Linked DNA regions of Homo sapiens: region 1 is linked to region 2. Evidence: promoter capture Hi-C in 16 types of primary human blood cells and fetal thymus (Javierre and others, 2016). All regions are on one chromosome and are shown on one strand. The core of a region is centred on a gene start or on the middle of the fragment in contact, and the rest is flanking DNA. Distances in the headings are between cores, read along the strand shown.

Region 1 (2,700 bases), core at 107-2,606, 120 kb after region 2:
TCTCCGTGTCTCTTTTCTCCAGTCTCTCGTTCCACCCGACGAGAAATGCCCACAAGGGTGGAGAGGCAGGCCACCCCTTCATTGTACCAATACTTTTGGGGTCTAAAACATGCTAGTTCTCAGATACATATAAACAAGGCATTATAATACAATAGCCCAAAATGTTACATATCAAATGTGTAGAAGGTCTGTGGGAGAGGGTTAATGTAAGTGATACTTGAGTTTAACCTTAAGGATAAACTGGACCCAGATGAAAAGAAACTGCCAACACCAGATTCACCAGGATGGGAAGACTAATTTTATAACAGACTGAGGGAGGAGAGGAGAATGATGAGCCATGAGGAAATGCAGGTTATATCTAAATTGAGAGCTGTGCAGGCCCTGCCAGAGGTTTTAGAATACAGACAAAGGTTTATAAAAAGATAAGAAATCTTTAAAGAAAAGAATGCATTCAAACTTTCATTTTAGGGAAAGCATCTGTTTTAGGATAAAGATAACTAGTGTGGCAGTGTGGAGTGTGGAATACATAACCATTTTCTACATACACTTCCAATGGGAAAATGTCAATTTGCTATGTGTACATTTTAGCAGTAGCAATGAGTTTCTAGAAACGGATGAAAGAAAATTGGCCTATAGAAGAAACGTGGTAAAATAAGCCAAACAATGCGATAAATCCAATTTGTTATTTCCTGTTAGTGACATATCAGTGATCACTTACGGCTAGCAAACTCATTTTAGGTAGCTGTCCATTAATAAGTGAATATAAAATATTTGAGAAATAAAAAGTAGAATACAGTAGAGAAGTAAGAGCTTTTTATAAAATGAGGAAAAAGAGGGAAACATTTTATAATTATATAACAATTTTGCAATAATCTGAATTTGCTAAACTACATTATAAATATCTTATTAACAGTTATTGAAATAACTGTTCCAAAACTTCAACCTTTCCTACTTACAAATAAATCTATTATGCTGTAAGATGCATTCCAAATGTGTTTTGGGGCCATGAAAAAAATATTAGATCACTTTGGGCATTAAGTGAAATTACCTTTATCTGCCACAATTTTAGGTGTCTGAAGAAATAAGCTCCCATGCTGCAGATCCATCATTTCTCCTTTAAGCTTATCTTCCAAAACATCCACAAGAGCAAGTTCATCAGCCAGAGACTGTAAACGCAAAAACAGGCATTAGAACCCTAAGCCACTCTAGGATGCGTCAGCTCACAATCTAACCCAAAGAAAGATCTTTAACATGGCTAAGCACCAAAGATCTAAACATCTTGAGAATTTTACCATGGAGTTAGATACTCAATGAGGATTCAGTTCACATGATACAAACTATACTTTAAGAACATGTAGACTTAAAGATTCATTAGGAAACCAGCTTAGTTCAAGAGTAGGCCTAGTGAATACAAGTCTATATTAATGGAGAGGGAATGGTGAAAACAAAAATACACTCAGGCCCAGAAACAACCTTGGGCAATGTGTCCATCCTTGAGGTCACCCCAATTTGGAGGCTTTCTGAGATGGTAGATTTGGCTTAAATCACCAGGAGTGTGAGTTTACTTTAGAGTAGGATTTGAAACCCAGGTTGAAGCTTGGAATCTTCAGGGTGGCTCTGATCCACTCAAATGTCTTGGTGGGGAAAGGAAGATGAGTTTTATGGACAGAGGAATCTAGGATTGGGAGGTTTTTTCATGTGATCACTCCAAATCTGTGCCTGAGACTTGCCCAGTCTCAGATTTCTTTTGTTTTCTATTCCAATTGTCATTCTCTGTCCCCCATTCAAAATACAATCTAAAGTAATGAATATACTATTTAATCTTGATCTGGAGTCATATTTTTTTTTGAGACGGAGTCTCGCTCCGTTGCCGAGGCTGGAGTGTAGTGGTGCAATCTCGGCTCACTGCAGCCTCCGCCCACTGCAATCTCCACCTCCCGGGTTCAAGTGATTTTCCAGCCTCAGCCTCCTGAGTAGCTGGGATTACAGGTACGTGCCACCACACCCAGCTAATTTTTGTATTTTTAGTAGAGATGGGGTTTTGCCATGTTGCCAAGGCTGGTATCGAAATCCTGACCTCAGTTGATCCACCCGCCCCGGCCTCCCAAAATGCTGGAATAGGCAGTGCTGGGCCTGGAATCATAATTTTTTAAATTTTCTCAATATCTACATAAAAGTGAAAGAAAGGAAAAAAAAAAGGTGGTTGGTCTACATGCATCTAAGCAACCTTTCAGCTATGAAATTCCATTATCTTATGGAAGTCATAATTTATAAACTGTTTATAAAGTGGTTATCCCTCCTATTGAAACATCACCAGAGTCCTTGCTCTTACTGTTTTTATGGCTGTTAGCAAAAATATCAGCTAAGTAGAATACATCAATACTGGGGCCCAGTTAAAAATGCCAATACAGTCATTCCTCAATATACGATACTCAAGGGATTGGTTCTAGGACCTCTGAGTGTACCAAAATCTGGGCATAATCAAGTATACAGAAAGGACAGTATTCACCGGATGCAAAAGACTCTCCATATATGTGGGTTTCGCATCCCCTGAATACTGTATTTTCAATATACTTTTGGTTGAAAAAAAAAATCTGCCTGTAAGTGAACCAGCCCATGTTGTTCAAGGGTCAACCTCTTCTAAGAATAGTAGTGTGATCAGCTACACAGGTGAAGGGTATTAATGGGGGGGAGGGGCCA
Region 2 (2,700 bases), core at 107-2,606:
CATAAACCTAAGAATCATCCTTGATTTATTTTTCTCACACTTTCATATCCCTTTTATATACAAGTTCTATATTTTCTACCTCCACAACATGTATTCCAAATTCATTTACAGCTCTTCTTTCCCTGTGTGTACCATCCCAGTGTAAGCCATCATCATCTATTGCTTATAATCGTATTTCCACATCAACTGGCCCATTTCTTCTTCTCCAATCTCATTTCAAAGCACCTCCCCCGTTCACCCACACAACGCTGCCTCCATTGGCCTCTTTCCTAGTCCCCAAGCAAGTCATGCTCTTTGCTGTCCACAGATTTTGCTTTTCTTTCTTCTATTGAGAATGCCTGGAATACTAATTCCTGCCCAGCTTCTCCCATTACTTCACCTTATCCTTCAAGACTACCCTCTGTTTTTAACCTTCCCTAAAGTAGCCCACCACTTATCCTATCACATCACCTTGCTTACTTTTACTTAACAATTTAAAACATTCTGTAGTTACAGTAGTCCCTGCTTATCCACGGTTTCACTTTCCATGGTTTCAGTTACCCATGGTCAACTACAGTCTGAAAATATTAAATGGGAAATTCCAGAATTAATAAGTTTAAATTGTGAGCTTTAAATCTGAGTAGGGTGTTGAAATCTCTCACTGTCCAGCTCCAGCCCACCCAAGACATGAACCATCTTTTTGTCCAGCATGTCCATATGTAAACACCACTCTCCCATTAATCAGTTAGTAACCATCTTGGTGAACAGATAAAAAAAAATAGTATAATAAGGCATATACGTATCAGTGGTTTCAGGCATCCACTGTGGGTCTTGAAACATGCTCCTCCACCCCACACACACCTACGATTAAGGGGTAACTACTGTGTCTTATTTATCTATTCATCAGTTTACTGTGTACCTTAACTAGTAGGTAACTTAGATCAAAGCAGAGACCATGTCTTTTCAGTGCATGGCTGTGTCCCTTGAAATACAAGGATTGTGTGTCTCATAGGCACTCAATAAATATTTGCTAAACAACAGAATGAATTGATAATTAAGTGAATGACTGATGTCAAATTCCATTGAGATTCCCAAACCTTTTCATACATCTTTAGCCATCAGTGATAGACTGATGGCTAGTTACCCAAGAAAAGTTTTCTGATTTATTCTTTTACTTTTGATTCTGCCTTGGACTATTGATTGTTTTCATTAATAATAATAATAACATGTTACTTTGGGCAGCTAGTAGGAAAAGCAAGGCCAATGATGCTGACACATTCTGAAGGCCTCCTGGGTGATGCAATCAGTATTTAAACAAATAATTTCTGCCCATCAATCATTCCTCTACTTCCTGCAATGAAGCTCCCTGGAGGAGTCATCAGATTCTCAATCTTGCTTGAAGACTGACAAGATGTCCCTGTGGACTCCCAAACTCTACTCCAGATGGGGAGGTGCCCTTAACACCAAGATTTTAAAAGCTCCAATTTCAGAGCAAGAGTCGAAAACTCACAGATAAAGTTATAGTTATTTCAGGGTTCTGAAAAGACGCAGAACATGAAGGTAAGTAAAGGCTTTATTAACTTGAGACTTCTTAGCTATTTTTTAAAACGTTTTATAGCATTTTACCTATTTCATGTTTAATAAGGATTTTAGAGTTTAAAGGATATTTGAACGATACGCCTTTAGAATAACAGAATCATTTGATTTTACTAAGAAAAAAATTCACGTATTTACTTATTCTTCATTTGGGTGAAGTAATACAAATAATATGTTTCTAAATACGTTTTTTCAAGTGGACTCTTTGTGAATTAACTAGAAGGTAGAAGGGAAACACCTCCAGAAAACTGAGTATTAAAACAGAATATTGCGAGAAGTAAGGGGGTTTATAATTGTCCAGGCGTCAAGGAAGGAAGCAGAAGATCCTATTGGCACAGAAATGACCCTTTCTGGTTGATCGCTTCATATAGGGACTCAGAAGTCTGGCAGCAACAACCTTGGCTCTTTTCCTGGTGTTTGTTTTCCTGGGAAACTCCAGCTGCGCTCCGCAGGTAATCAAATGCAAAATAAAAAATTTTAAAACAATGCGCACTGTGTGTCCACTCTGCTCTTTCTTTCTTCCTTCTTGTTTTATTCTCTTCTTTTTCCTTTATTTTGCTGTAATAGAGGACTGAGCTGCAATGTTTTATTAACTGCTCTTCCCTTCCCCCGGGCTATAGAGACTGTTGGAGAGAAGGAACTGGACTCCTCAAGCTATGCTCTACCTGAAAGGGGCACGTAAGTTCCAAATATTTCGCTCTTCCTACAATAATGGAAGACCCCTAGGAGTCAGGAACAGATAGATGGAGAGTTATGGAGAGAGAATAATGTCGAGTTTATTCCCTTAAATCATCGAGGCCATCAAAGAGACCGGTAGGTGAGGGAGGGGTGGGAGAGGGGAAGAGTCCCTGATTATTGGAAATCCTCCATCCTTATTAGAAATTCTCCATCCAAAACTGGAGGGTTGCTTCTCTTGGTCCAAATGGGGACTCGGGTTGCCTGGGAAATATCTCAGTAACCCGACCTCCGCTCCAAAGCGCCCTTGCGGCGTCCGGTCAGGCGCGGGGCTTTCCTCCAGAGCTCCAGGGCCCCTGGCTCAGCCCGGGGTTGCGCTGGGAGCGCTGGAAACTCGGCAGCCCCGCGCGACCCTATCCTGGAGCAACCTGCCCCCTCCCCACGCCCGGG

The links. Contacts are between HindIII fragments. The CHiCAGO score rates a contact against its expected background, and 5 or more counts as called.
Region 1: a fragment that was not itself captured here is called in contact with the fragment with the promoter of SPX in region 2 in 1 of 17 cell types (megakaryocytes); the score reaches 5.5 in megakaryocytes.

The regions. Positions count from the first base shown.
Region 1 is chr12:21,645,851-21,648,550 of GRCh38, forward strand. LDHB (lactate dehydrogenase B) reads right to left here. Exons shown (of 8, transcript NM_002300.8): 3 at 1,049-1,166. Among named protein-coding and RNA genes, the nearest start is that of LDHB, 11 kb to the right of the region's middle. The HindIII fragment of the contact is 475 bases long and covers 1,120-1,594 here.
Region 2 is chr12:21,524,940-21,527,639 of GRCh38, forward strand. It overlaps SPX (spexin hormone), which reads left to right and starts at 1,357. Exons shown (of 6, transcript NM_030572.4): 1 at 1,357-1,539; 2 at 1,947-2,027; 3 at 2,196-2,253. The coding sequence starts at 1,534. The HindIII fragment of the contact is 15,623 bases long and covers 1-2,700 here.